Regions from separate parts of the Homo sapiens genome. Here region 2 is linked to region 1. The links are contacts of gene promoters, found by promoter capture Hi-C in human tissues and cell types (Jung and others, 2019). All regions are on one chromosome and are shown on one strand. The core of a region is centred on a gene start or on the middle of the fragment in contact, and the rest is flanking DNA. Distances in the headings are between cores, read along the strand shown.

Region 1 (7,285 bases), core at 1,752-4,251:
TCAGGCTGGTTTTGAACTCCTGACCTCAAGTGCTCCACCCGCCTCAGCCACTCAAAGTGCTGGGATTACAGGTGTGAGCCGCCGTGCCTGGCCTTGCCCTGACTATTCTTACTAAAGTCACCTAATTTAGCTTCTATAGAATTTTGTGCTAAGTGACCTAGACTCTCAAAAAACTACAAAGTAGCCTTATCACCCATCTATAATCCTTTATGTCAAACCCCACACCCCCCCCAAAAAAAAATCTTTGCTGAAATAAAGCATGCCACACAACTTCCAAAGACGTAAACTAGACCCAGATATTCAGTATGTGGGCCAGAATAGTTCTGTTGTTTGTTTTTGTAAGAGCAGAAACAAGTGATATTTTTAAAATTTTATTTTTAGTAAAGATGGGGCTTTGCCATGTTGGCCAGGCTACTCTTGAACTCCTGGCCTCAAGAAATCCGCCTGCCTTGGCCTCCCAAAGTGCTGGGATTACAGGTGTGAGCCACCGCACCCAGCCCAAGTGATCTTTAAGATGCTTCAGATTTTATTTTATCATATATGGTACCATTCCTTTTAATTTGCATGAGGTGTTTGCTGGTAAATTAATCATTTCCTTCCAAATTCTGTTTATTCTGTTATGTCTATGTTCAGATCAATCTAGTCTTAGGGAGAGCAGGAGGAATATGCCTAAGAAAACCATAAAACTAAGAAAAACATAAAACGGCTTAGAAAGTCAACTGAGCCCAGCCTGGGCAAAATAGCGAGACCTCACCTCTATAAAAAATACAAAAATTAGCTAGGCATGGTGGTGTGTGCCTATAGTGCCAGGTAGTTGGGAGACTGAAGTGGGAAGATTGCTTGAACAGGGAAAGTCAAGGCTGCGGTGAGCCGAGATCCCAGCCACTGCACTCCAGCCTGGGCAACAAGAGCGAGACTCCGTCTCAAAAAAAAAAAAAAAAAAAAAAAATTTCAAAAACCCCAAACAAAACAAAACAAAAAAGGAAAGTCAGCTGACATCTAATCCTTGAGATGCAGTGAAAGTTTCTGATTAAATGCACTGAGAGAAGGTGGTGTTGTAGGGAAAAAACTGGATTAAAGAAAAATTAGAGGTCATTTGAGCTATTTTACAACTCTGTAAATTTTAACAACTGATGGCAATGTTAAGTAATTATTGTCTATAGACATGCAAATAAGGTTTATCCCATGAAGGACAACAGTCTTCCTTTCCCCCATGGAAAACCAGTTTCAATATTCCTGATCTATATTTCATTATTCAATATTCCTGATCTACGAATGTACCCATTCTTTGGGTTCTTCTTTGATCTGGCTACTACAGACTCATCAGTTTCGTCACTAATAAGTGCCGGGACTCAGAAGCCGATACCCCAAAATATGGGGCTTTGACATGCTGGAGACCTCAAGGTCTCTCTGACCTTCCCGGCTCCCAGCTCAAAAAAACCTTTGTCTGCCTAAGATCCAGACCCACCAAAAGGAACAACTGTTTCTTTTCCCTTCCCTGTAAGACCAAGAATATACCCCACACCTGAACAGACCCATTCACAAGATAATGTAGCTTATTCTCTCCCCTGACCCATTCATGCTCCCTAGCAGAAGCCCATCCACTTCTGCTGGATGCTCTTCGGCTCCCTCCCGTAACCTCATTTGCCAGGGTAGTCTATAAGCTTCTGAGACATGTTGCAGGGTGGGTAATCAATCACTCTGATTCTCCCTGTGTGCATGTTAAATAAATGTGTATGCATTTACCATTACACAACCTTAAAAGAGTGTTGTTGGTCTATTAGCAATAATGACTGAAGGAAATTGGTATTTTTGTCCATTTCAGCTACTACTAGGATAATCTTATAAGATATTTGGGAAGTTATGTTTTGGTCTATTTAATATATGTGCCTCGATGAAAAAAACACCTTTTGCCACAGGAGACACCAATGTTTCAATATTGATAGGAGCAAAACACATGAGAGTGCTTTTTTTTTTTTTTTTTTTTTTTTTTTGAGGCAGAATCTTGCTGGGTCGCCCAGGCTGGAGTGCAGTGGTGCAATCTTGGCTCACTGCAACCTTCGCCTCCCAAGTTCAAGCCATTCTTCAGCCTCAGCCTCCAGTGTAGCTGGGATTACAGGCACCCGCCACCATGCCCGGCTAATTTTTGCCTTTTTAGTAGAGACGGGGTTTCATCCCAGGGCCAAGCTGGTCTCGAATTCCTGACCTCAAGCAATCCGCCCCGCTCAGCCTCCCAAAGTGCTGGGATTACAGGCGTGAGCCACTGCGCCTGGCCTGAGAGTACTTTTAGAAAACATTATTCCTTTACCTTTTTCAAACTTGAAGCACTCCGAAAGTCCCAACCTTTTGCACATTTGCGGCAGCGACATTGATTTGGTAAACAGCTGTCACACTATTTATTATTTGATGACTTAGGTATCCTTTCCAGCAGTGTTTTTGTAAGGTGTAGTTGCGTTTTCTTTTAGTTTCAATTAACTAAATTTCAAGTGGTTCCCAAAAAAGCCCCTGCTCTCTTAAATTCAAACTCACCTTCCTTTTTCCCACTAGGAAGGACCTTTTCTCCATCCTTGGATTGGAATTTGGAATTCTATGCTAAAATGCCTTTTCAGTTAAAATCTGTGAACGTGGGATGTAACCATAGGAGGTGCTGGCACTTTACGGGAATCATGATTTTATTTAATCTGCGCTTCCAGAAGGCTGCAAATGGGAATTCCAGACAAACCCACTTGGGTGAATCCCAGCACGCGGGCTGCGGCGTAGGGGGAGAGCTCCTCACGCGGCTCAGAGTGTAGCCCAGGCCCGCAGAGCCAGGAACCCGCCCCCAGCTCTCCAAACCCGGGAAGAGAGAGGCGACACTGCTAAGACCGAGGGATGACGGTGCTTCTTCAATTAATTCGCCCCCCGAGATATTCTTACCTACAGAAGGGAGTGTCTGTTCACCAAATCGCTCACTTGCCGCACGACCACGCACCCGCGGCTGTCGGATGGATCCAGGCGCTCTTGGTGGGAAGGGGGCGGAGCCTGCCTGGCCCGGAGCCCGGGGCCACGCCCCCACGCTTTGCATATGCGAATCCGGGCGTCCAGACCTTTCATCCCAGTGTGGAAGCCCAGATTTTCCTGGCCCAGGGCCGGTTTTCTGGGCAGAAACAGTCAACTCTGCTGAAAGGAACAACTTAAGTAATACACTGACATTCAGCATAATGAAGCAAGAGGGCCTGAATCCAACAGCGATCGTTTGCTTTATTTACAAATATGTCCTTTCTTATGAATCCATTTATTTCTCTCCAAAAGCTTAGGAGAGAGGGCTGGCTGGCTGTCACCCCCACTCTACACATGAAGAAAGTGAGGCGGAAGGAAGTAGGCCTAGTAAATAGAGAAGCCTGGGTTTTAGTTGGGGCTCCTGGCTCCAGAGCCAGTGGTTATAATCACTCTGCACTTTTTTTTTTTAAAGGAGGTAGAGTGGGATGGTTTCCTGGCACTTTGAAAATCTGATACAAACAATTTTTTCTTTTCTTCTTCTTTTTCTTTTCTTTTCTCTTTTCTTTCTTTCTTTTTTTTTTTTTTGAGACAGAGTCTCCCTCTGTCGCCCAGGATGGAGTGCAGTGGCGCGATCTCGGCTCACTACAACCCTCCGCCTCCCGGGTTCAAGCGATTCTCCTGCCTCAGCCTCCAAAAATTAACGCCCAGTTAATTTTTGTGTTTTTAGTAGAGACGGGGTTTGGTTTCACCATATTGGCCAGGCTCATCTCGAACTCCTGGCCTCGTGATCCGCCTGCCTCGGCCTCTCAAAGTGCTGAGATTACAGGCGTGAGCCACCGCGCCTGGTCTTTTTTCTTTCTTTCTTTCTTTCTTTTTTTTTTTGAGATGGAGCCTCGCTGTTGTTGGCCCCGGGCTGGAGTGCAATGGCACGATCTTGGCTCACTGCAACCTCCACCTCCCGGGTTCCAGCAATTCTTCTGCCTCAGCCTCCCTAGTAGCTGGGATTACAGGCGCCCGTCACCACACCCAGCTAATTTTTGTATTTTTAGTAGAGATGGGGTTTCACCATGTTGTCCAGGCTGGTCTCAAACTCCTGACCTCAGGTGATCCACCCGCCTCGGCCTCCCAAAGTGCTAGGATTACAGGTGTGAGCCACAGCACCCGGCCACCTGGCCTCTTTTCTTTTCTTTTCTCTTTCTTTCTTTCTTTTTTTTTTTTTTTTGACAAAGTCTCACTTTATCTCCCAGGCTGGAGTGCAGTGGTGCAACCCCAGCTCACTGCAACCTCAATCTCCCAGGCACACTGATCCTCCTGCCTCAGCCTCCCAAGTAGCTGGGCTTGCAGGTGGGTGCCACCACGTCACATTAATTTTTTTGTTTTTTTTTTTTGGTAGAGACAGAGTCTCACTATCTTGCCCAGGCTGGTCTTGAACTCCTGGGCTCAAAGGATCCTCCTGCCTTGCCCGCCCAAAGTGTTGGGATTACAGGCATGAGCCACTACGCTTAGCCTGCAAAGAGTTTATATATTAAAGTGAAACTTCTTATTAAACAGAGAATTTTTTTAAAGCATTACAAGGTTCTTATTGGTTAAAATGGAAAAAATATTTTTATTTCTGTTCATCTCTTGGTGGACTTGAAAAACCCTCCCTAAAGATAAACACTGCGTGGCTTCTAAGGGCTACCAGTGGAAGTGAAATGGATTAAAACACCCCGAGGTGTCTTGGTTCTCTGTCCTACGACTCTGCGTTTTCTATTTTCATCTTCCTATGATTTGTGAAAAGTCCTGAGCTGAACCTTAGGTGTAGGAGTGCCCTGCTCATTGTGCAACCTTGCAAATTGCTGGGTCCTCCCAAAGAATATTGTGAAATTTTCTTAAAGGCTGAAGGTGTCATGATTTCCTTCACACCTCTTGAAGAAAATGAGTTCAAATTGGACCTTGAGAAGTTTACTCTGATTCTCTAATATCTCATAGCCACAGTCTAAATCAGAGAGAGATATTGAGGAATTCATTCATTCATGCATAGAAACATAAATGACACATTTGCAGATTACATGACATGACATTTGAGTTTGATCCCATACGACTGTGTGGGGAGAAGGCTGTGGATGGGGTCATAGATGACAAAAGATTGGCTGTGTGTTGATTATTGTTGACTTGGGCAGTAGTTCTTAGAAACTGATTGCACTATTTTCCATTTTTGTATATGTTTATTTTCCATAATACAAAATTGTTTTAAAATCATTTATTCTGACTGGGCACAGTGGCTAATGCCTGTAATATAGCACTTTGGGGAGCCGAGGTGGGTGCATCGCTTGAGCCCAGGAGTTCAAGACCAGCCTGGGCAACACAGTGAGACCCTGTCTCTACAAAAATACAAAAATTACCCAGACGTGGTAGCATGCGTCTGTAGTCCCAGCTACTTGGGAGGCTGAAGTGGGAGATTGGCTTGAGCCTAAAGAGGTGGAGGTTGCAATGAGCTGAGATCACACCATTGCACTCCAGCCTGAGTGACAGAGCCAGACCCTGTCTCAAATAAACCCATACACAAAAAAGAAAAAAAAATCATTTGTTCATTAAGAAGTTATTTATTGAGTAACTATGTGCCAGACACTGTCCTAGGTGCTTGGGATACATTCGTGAACAAAGCTAAAAATCTCTGCCTTGTAATTTACATTCTAGCTTGGGATGGGGTATATAGAGGGAACATAAATAGTAAACATGATGAGTTAGTGAATTTTATAGTGTGTTAGAAAGTGGTAAGTGCCGTGGATCCCACTGAGAAGAGGATGGAGAAGATGACTAAGCCTGAGGCTTGGAGCTCCAACTTGGGAAAGAACCTACAGGGAGGCTGAATGAGAACAGTAGGAGAGGGAGCCATAGTGTATTAGGGAGTTGCTCAACACTGTGTACCTCCCTATTATACTTCCTCTTGCACTGTTACTAAAAAATGTGGCTGCAATTATGTCCATGAAAACCTATACAAGGCCAGGCATGGTAGCTCACGCCTGTAATCCCAGGTGAGTAGATCACCTGAGGTCAGGAGTTCGAGACTAGCCTGGCCAACATGGCGAAACCCCATCTCTACGAAAAATGCAAAAATTAGCCAGGCGTGGCGGCACACCCCTGTAATCCCAGCTACTTGGGAGGCTGAGGCAGAAGAATCGCTTGAACCCAGGAGGTGGAGGTTGCAGTGAGCCGAGATCACGCCACTGCACTCCAGCCTGGGTGACAGAGTGAGACTCTGTCTCAAAAAAAAAAAAAAAAAAAAAAAAAAGTCTATTTGAATAGTTGATATAGGAGTGGAGAAAAGGTGGCCAGGCAAAGAAAATCTCACATTAGGATTACTGCAAGTAGGCTAATTTATCTGTTTCACTCTTAAATGTTAACTCTTTGAAGGCAAATATTTGTTTAGTTTTTTTTTTTTTTTTTTTTTGAGATGGAGTCTCACTGTGTTGCCCAGGCTGTAGTGTAATGGGTCGATCTTGGCTCACTGCAACCTCTGCCTCCTGGGTTCAGGGGATTCTCCTGCCTCAGCCTCCCGAGTAGCTGGGATTACACGCACCTGCCACTACGGCCAGCTAATTTTTGTATTTTTAGTAGAGACAGGGTTTCACCATGTTAGTCAGGCTAGTCTCAAACTCCTGACCTCAGGTGATCTGCCCGCCTCGATCTCCCAAAGTGCTGGGATTATAGGTGTGAGCCACCGCACCTGGCCTTATCTTTAGATTTCTATCTTGGCTGGATAACTGGCCTAATAGAGCAGCCACATATTTGCTGAGTGAATGAGTAAAAAACACATAGAGAGTTGGAGAGAAGCTGTGACCTGCCGTACTGGGACCATCCAACACTCCCAATCATAAATCAGTTGCAGATGTTGGAGCTCATAAACCGATAACACAAAATACAGTGCCTTGAGATACCGAACTGCAGAAGCCTAAGGGTCTGTCTGATCTCCCCGACAAGGTCTCTTCTGAAGAAGCTGAAGTCTTCTGTCTGCCTAAGATCTAGACCCACCAAGGGGAACTATGGTTTTTCCTTCCCCTCCTTGTAAGAGTAAGAATGTAACCACACTTGAATAGACCCTCTCACAGTCAAAGAGAACTACTTACAAATTAATCTCAGTACCTGATCCTTTATTGTCCTTCAGCAGAATTCCTCTTCTTCCTCCTCCCATAATGTGTTTAGCCAGGCTGGTAGATTGAAGGGGGCCAGCCTCTCCACACCTGTGGGTATTTCTCGTTCATCTCTTGGTGGGACGAGAGACTGAGAAAAGAAATACGACACAGAGACAAAGTATAGAGAAAGA
Region 2 (7,285 bases), core at 2,209-4,708, 240 kb before region 1:
AGCTAGGTGATATCAAGGAGGTAGCCTGGTTCATGCATTTCATTTACAGAAAAAGGAGTTAAGCTAGAAAGTTGTTACTTACGTTGGACAATATTGGTTCCAAAATGAAGCCAATAGAACAATTGTAATTGTATTTGATTTTTATTACATGGTTAAGATGTATGTCCTGCTTTTACTAAACACAGGTCCTTTAATCCATGTAAAGTATTTGATTTGGAAAAAATACATATATTTACACTTCCGGATTTCTGACATTTCTGTGTAGTCCCTGTAAGTACAGCAGCAAATGTGTAATATCAAGGACATATTTTCAAATTTCTTCCTAGATACCACATTTCAGAAACATTGTGCATAAAAGGATATCTCAGTATAATGACAATTATTTATCTTAATGGAACTTAATCTGTGGCAGATAGGACTTCATTTCTCTATTGAGTCATTCCACAAATATTTATTGCCTACTTGTCCTGTGTCATAAGTTACCTGGATCTTAACTGTTCTATGGAGCGTGCCTTGTAAGTATGTAAACGTAGAGTTACAATATATTGTAGTATTTCCTTTCTGTGAATGAGATAGCCAGGAAATATGTAAATGATACAGCTTCTCTGGGAGTTGATGCCTGAGCAAAGACCTTTAACGAGAAATTCTGCTTCATATGTTTGAAAGATCAAGTACTTATGAGCTAGGTACACATGGCTTTGAATCCTGACTCCAAGTATTAGTTATACGGTATTGAGAATGTCACTCAATCTATTTGAGCTTGATTTTTCTCTTATATGAAACAGTGAGGATAAGATTTCCCTTGTAAGTTTTGGATGTAGATTTGTTTTCAGTATTAAAAATAATGTATGTTAAACATCTCACGTAATGCCTGGTATATAGCAAGTGCCCTATAGATGAGAAGCATCAAGGAAGAGGACATGCCATGAGTAAGGGAACAGTACTGTATGTGAAAGATATTAAATAAGAAATATCCTAATAAAAATCTGTCACTTTGGATTTTATGGTTGTAACTCAAAACCGGAATCTAATTGGTTTAAAAATATGAAGGGTTTATTGATTGATTTTAAAGTAAAACTATACAGTGGCTTAATAATATTGCCTAGATTTTCCTCATTCGAGCATGGTTGTCCCCAGCTCCTGGGTATACTGCCTTAATTATGTCGTTGGTCCAATACTTTCAGAAGTTCTGCATTTCCCTCTGATTGGGTTAGCTTAGATCATGCCACAACTGGACACATGTTCTAACCTGACTTCATTGTCACAAGGATCCCCAAATAGAGTTCCCAAATCTGAAATCTAGAATTCTTGGGATGTAGGGAATGAAGACTAGAGTGGCAACCATCAAATGTCTACTGCAGAACGTTGGAGGGACAATAGCTTCTGAAGATTTTTTTCTTTGACAAGCAATAGTGCAGGAAAATAATTTAGGAAGAATAATATAACTCTTGGGTTTAATAATTATGTATCTGATGTTTAGATGACATGGTATAATTGAAAGAATATGAATTTTGAAGTCAGATTTTGACAATGCTACTAGCTTCGTGGCTTAGGGCAAGGTGTTATGCTAGGCCACTACATGCAGATTGGCCCAGATCCATCCTTGTAGCCTCAGTTTCTTTATTTATGTTAAGAAGATATCATATAGCTCAGGGTTGTTAAGAGGATTCAATGATACACATCGTTACTGTATTTACTTATTGAGCACATACCGTATTTGAGGATAGGGCTAAGCACTGGAGTTACAAATATTGAAATAAGGCATGCTAGCTGCCGTTCCTTGATTTACCTGGAAAATATGAATACATAGCAAATAGTATCCACTATCATGAATTCTAAATTTTAGGATAGTGACATACCTTCTATCATTTATACTAATACCTTTTTTTAAAATAAATTGAACTAGCATCTTGTTGTTAATGTTACTAGACTTGGAGCTAATCTTTCTTGTTTCTTTTTTTTCAGATGACTGTCCTATATGCTTGAATGATGTTCATTCAGAGTGTAACTGAATTTAGATTGTAAAACTTTAAAATGAACTTCAGAGTTAGATGCAGTTAAACTATTTGTTACTGAGGCAGAATGATGAAGGCATCCTAACTGATTGGTTTGTCACTATCTTTCACTGTCTTTCTGGTTGTATTTATGGAAATCCCTAAAATTCTGAATGGACACTTCAGACATTTAAAATATAGCCAACAGTAAAAATGGCCTTCATGTTAAATAACTTCTAGTTGATTTAAAGACTAGTTTTAGACTAAATTATTTGTTTTATGGAGACTATAAACATTAGTATAATTGATATGTAATATAAAAGATTGTCCTAGCCTTAAAAAGTGATCCATAAATTTTTCAGTGAGGGTTTAGATAAAATAAAAAATAACATTTGAGAAAGAGGTTGCCACTTTAATACCATCTATTTTATGTGGACAGTGCATTTAAGCTTGAAATTTCACAGGTAATAAATGTAGCTGGATAGTAACTTATATTCTGTTGATTCTGTGTACATTGACTCTTGAGATGAATGTTACAAGAATTTTAATTTTTTTTAGATGACAGATGAAAAGAGGTATTTAATGTTTTTATACAATTAGTAGCATTAGGATGGATTGCAAATCAGATGCTCTTTTGGAGCTCTGTGTATAATATTCAGGACCTTGTGAGGTCACAGTGAGCAGGGATTTATATTCTTAATTCCTTTTTTACTTTTTTTGGATACTCTGATATGGCCACATTCAGTTAAGTATTTAGAGTAAGTGGCCAAAATATTTTATACTTTCTCTCTCTCTCTTTTTTTTTTTTTTTTGAGACATAGTCTCACTCCGTCACCCAGGCTGGAGTGCAGTGGTACGATCACGGCTCACTGCAACCTCTGTCTCCCGGGTTCAAGCCATTCTCCTGCCTCAGCCTCCCAAGTAGCTGGGATTACAGGCGCCCGCCACCATGCCCGGCTAGTTTTTGTATTTATAGTAGAGACTGGGTTTCGCCATGTTGGCCAGGCTCGTCTTAAACTCCTGACCTCAGGTGATCCACCGCCTTGGCCTCTCAAAGTGCTGGAATTACAGGCATGAGCCACCTCGCCTGGCCTAGATACTTTTTCAATTGTGAAGGACAAATTTTTTATTTTAAGCAAATATTTATTAAGTGCCAGATACTAGCCCATGTGCTGGAGATACAACAGTTAAAGTATTTATTGAAAAAAAAGAAAAAACTATTGAGTGCTAGCTGTGTGACAGACATTCTAGTAACAGTGATGTGAGGAAGGTACTATTATCCAAGCTCAACTTTAAGTTGTAAAATTAGTGCACACTCTTAGTGTTTTGCTGTTATAACCTGCTAGAAGTTGGGATCTGGAACTGATGCTGATTCCACCACCAAAGAATGTATGGTTACCATGGTTACCGTAAATTGTTGTGAATTCTATATTTTGGGGATTTAAATGGTAGATTTTACTTCATTGTGTTTCAAATGGCAGAAAAAAGACTTTTTCTTTTTTTTGTTTTTATTTTTTGAGACGGAGTTTCACTCGTCACCCAGGCTGGAGTGCAGTGGTGCGATCTCACCTCACTGCAACCTCCACCTCCCAGGTTCAAGCGACTCTCCTGCCTCAGCCTCCCAAGCAGCTGGGATTACAGGCATGCACCACCATGCCTGGCTAAATTTTTTTTGTATTTTTAGTAGAGATGGGGTTTCACCATGTTGGCCAGGCTGGTCTTGAACTTCTGACCTCAGGTGATCCACCTACCTCGGCCTCCCAAAGTGCTTGGATTACAAGCATGAGCCACCATGCCCAGCCCAGAATAGATATTTTATGATGCATCATAAATGTTTGTTTTATGGCTGTGTCATGCTTTTTATTATTTTTAGGGAACTTCTTAGCTCCAAAATGTGTGTTCTTATTTTTGAGTTTCATTGAGAAAATACTGTTGTGTATTCTGAAATCAATGGGAATGATGGTGCCGTTCCAACAGCGATTCTTTTCAATTTGGCATGTGCATACTACCATGTGCCGTAATTCTCGTGCTATTTTTTATATTTGAATTCTAATTAGAACCCCTCATTGTATGCAGTCAAGTTTGATAGTGGATAAGTTTATCAAAAAATTCAGTTAAAGCAAGCAATCAGTAAAAAAAAAAAAATACATACATGCACACATACATATACATGTATCTATTATATATACATATATAATATATATATTTAGCAAGCATAGGTTTTTTTGTTTGTTTGGGTTTTGTTGTTGGTTTGAGACAGGGTCTCACTCTGTCGCCCAGGCTGGAGTGCAGTGGCATTATCATGGTTCACTGCAGCCTTGACCTCCCCAGGCTTAGGTGATCCTCCGACCTCAGCTTCCCAGGTACCTGGGACTACAGGCGCGTGCCACCATGCCCAGCTAATTTTTGTAGAGATGGGGTTTCGCCATGTTGCCCAGGCTGATCTCCAACTCCTGGCTCAAGCAATCCTCCTACCTTGGTCTTCCAAATTGTGGGGATTACAGGCGTGAATTACCATGCCCTGCCTCAAGCTTAGGTTTTTAAATTTTAACATACAACTGTTAATTTGCTGGCACATAAGGCTTTGAATATGGGTCCACTGATTAGATTCTTTGTCCCCTAATATAACCCAGACTCATGCTGTACTATTTATGATTTTTAGCATTTTAATGTACTTATAAAACAGTTTGAATGCTGAATTCTTCTAGATTTTTATGATTTTTCTCTCAGTCTTTTACAGTTCTTTTCCATGGTCAAATAACAGCTTATCCTAGTGACTTGTTTTAGTCTCTAAAAATACTTAGTTTACATGGAAATAATTCTTCTCACTCATGCCATTGTTTTACATGACATTCACTTAAACTATATACTTACCAAGTACTGTACCAACTATATTACCAAATACTATACCAGACAAATTTTGATAAGCATAAAACTCACTCTCTCCTGAGAGAGGAGCAGGAGAAAGTGGCCTTCTAGCCATGAATGTTCATTGTGCAGTAGGCATTAACTTTAGGTTTCTCAGAGGGAAGGAGAAACATAGATTTAACCAGCAAATTGGATAAGAAGGACTCTTCTGTATAGTGCTGTGGGTACCTTTTATACTGGGAAAACTCCAGCATTCAGGTTGTGGTGACATCATTTGACCATAACTGAGTATAAAGGCATTATTGCCATGTTAAGCCTTTTTCTGTTCCCTATTCATTCATCCATCATTTTTGGCATGTGATTTTTAAACACTGGCTTTTAGTTTCAAAGTGGATAAAATACAGTTTAGATTAAATTTACATTAAATTTTATAATATTAGTGCATTATAAATGAAAAGAATTAAGACATTGTTTTAAAAGAACTTGCCGACCTCTGGATCTCAATTTGAAAATCATTGTCTTTTTAGAAACCTCTGTATCTGTTCCAATAGCATTCTTTGGAAAACAGGCAAATCTCCTTATTTGATATTTTCCTTCTTTTCTGTGCAGCGTGCATGATGTTCACATTTGTGAGAAACTCCTATGGAAATATTCGGGACTAGGTTTTACTACTCCCCCTCATTTTTTCCCCCACTTGAATGTGTTTTCTAATTCAAATCAAAGTGATGATTGTCTAGGGAAATACAACTTGGATACCTTTAATGTATGTAAAAACGTTTTAAAATCAGTTATAACTTTGAGTACTTACATTAATAGCATGTTCCTTGTGACATTTTTTACAACCTTACACACGAGAACTATTGCTAAAGACACCTGATTGAACATTAGAATGAAATTCATGAGCTATTCAGTGGGGACAGGAAACTTATTTGAGTTGTTTGAAATACAGAGAATTAATTTTTGTTTGTGTTAGAACATACTTTGCTCAAAGACTTCTGACTAAGATAGCAATCTTTTTGATTGACACCATACATGTTTTGTAGAGGTCATAATTATACCTTACTTTTATTCTGGTTGCTTGTTTTAAGAGGAATGTTAACAAACTGGAGCATGCTCCAAGGAATCTGATCAAGATGGTAAGGAAGTTTGAAACTATGTATTAGAGGAACATTTGCAGGAACCAAAAATGCTACTAGCTTAAAGAAGAAAAGATTAGACAGTGGGGGAGCTGTACACATGATCACTGTCATTGGGTAATTTAAGGCATTGGGAGAGGTAATACATTTATTTTTACGACTCTAGGGGGAGATGCAACACCAGTGTTTGTAAGTTATGGAGAAACAGTGTATGTTCAGAAAAGGAAAGAGGAATTTTCCTTGTAATTGTCAGATTCCAAAAATTCTTGTCTTTCCATATTTCTTATTTTATTTTATTTTATTTTTGAGATGGAGTCTCACTCCATCTCCCAGGCTGGAGTGCAGTGGCGCCAACTCAGCTCACTACAACTTTCATCTGTCAGGTTCAGGTGATTCTCCTGCCTCAGCCTCCCTGGTAGCTGGGATTACAGGCATGAGCTGCAATGAACTTCCTTCAATATGATCAGATGCATCAGCTACTTTTTTTTTTTTTTTAACTGTTTCTGGGTACTTTTATAATCTTCTGCTCTGGAAATGCTGCTGTCTAGGCCTGCTGTGCGGCTCTCATACCAGAACTTTTCTTCTATCTTCATTCTGGAAATTCCCTTCACTTGTAACCTATGTTAGATGCTCTGTTTCCAGGACCCCCAACATTTCCGTTAGCCTCCTGATGAAAGGTGAATGAGAGGTCATTTTTGAAAGCCACAAAGCTGAAAATGTTTTATTCTGCCTTCTTTTTAAAAATTAGTTTGCCTACATTCACAAAGGTGAAAATACTTTACCCTTGGAACTTTCAATATATTGCTTAGTTGTCTTCAAACCTTCAGTGTTGCTGTTGAGAAGTCTGATGCTATTCTTATTACTGAGTCTTTCTGACCCACTTCTTTTCTTCCCTCTTTTGGAGTATGTAAGATCTTCTTTTCTTCCTGCTGTTCAGAACCTCATATTGAAGTATTTTGGTGTAGGTCTTTTGTTCAGTGTTTTAGGCTTTTTTTTTTTTTTTTTTTTTTTTGAATTTGTTTGGAAACTCACGCTTTTTATAGTGCAGACATATTTTCTCCAATCTTCTTTTTTGGGGAATATAAAAGCCTGTGATGCCACTGTTCTGGGAACCAAGTTGAGGGAGGTGACTGTCATTCTGTGTGTTTGATCTTAGATAATCCTCCAGCTTTCCACATGGTCCCTAACAAGAGTCTTCAGCAGTGTCTTGAGTTTGAAGTCTCTGTGGTATAACCTCTTTAAAACTTTCCTTCAGACTTCCCACCTAGGGCTGGTGGGAGTATGCTT

What was found. Contacts are between HindIII fragments. The study calls those that stand out against the background at their distance.
Region 2: a fragment that was not itself captured here is called in contact with the fragment with the promoter of SLC19A3 in region 1 in 1 of the 25 tissues and cell types used here (aorta).

Annotation. Positions count from the first base shown.
Region 1 is chr2:227,715,027-227,722,311 of GRCh38, forward strand. It overlaps SLC19A3 (solute carrier family 19 member 3), which reads right to left and starts at 3,002. Exons shown (of 6, transcript NM_025243.4): 1 at 2,917-3,002. RefSeq lists an enhancer at 2,533-3,419. The HindIII fragment of the contact is 9,813 bases long and covers 1-5,735 here.
Region 2 is chr2:227,474,114-227,481,398 of GRCh38, forward strand. The region is part of intron 1 of AGFG1 (ArfGAP with FG repeats 1); the gene reads left to right. Among named protein-coding and RNA genes, the nearest start is that of AGFG1, 5.6 kb to the left of the region's middle. The HindIII fragment of the contact is 5,033 bases long and covers 943-5,975 here.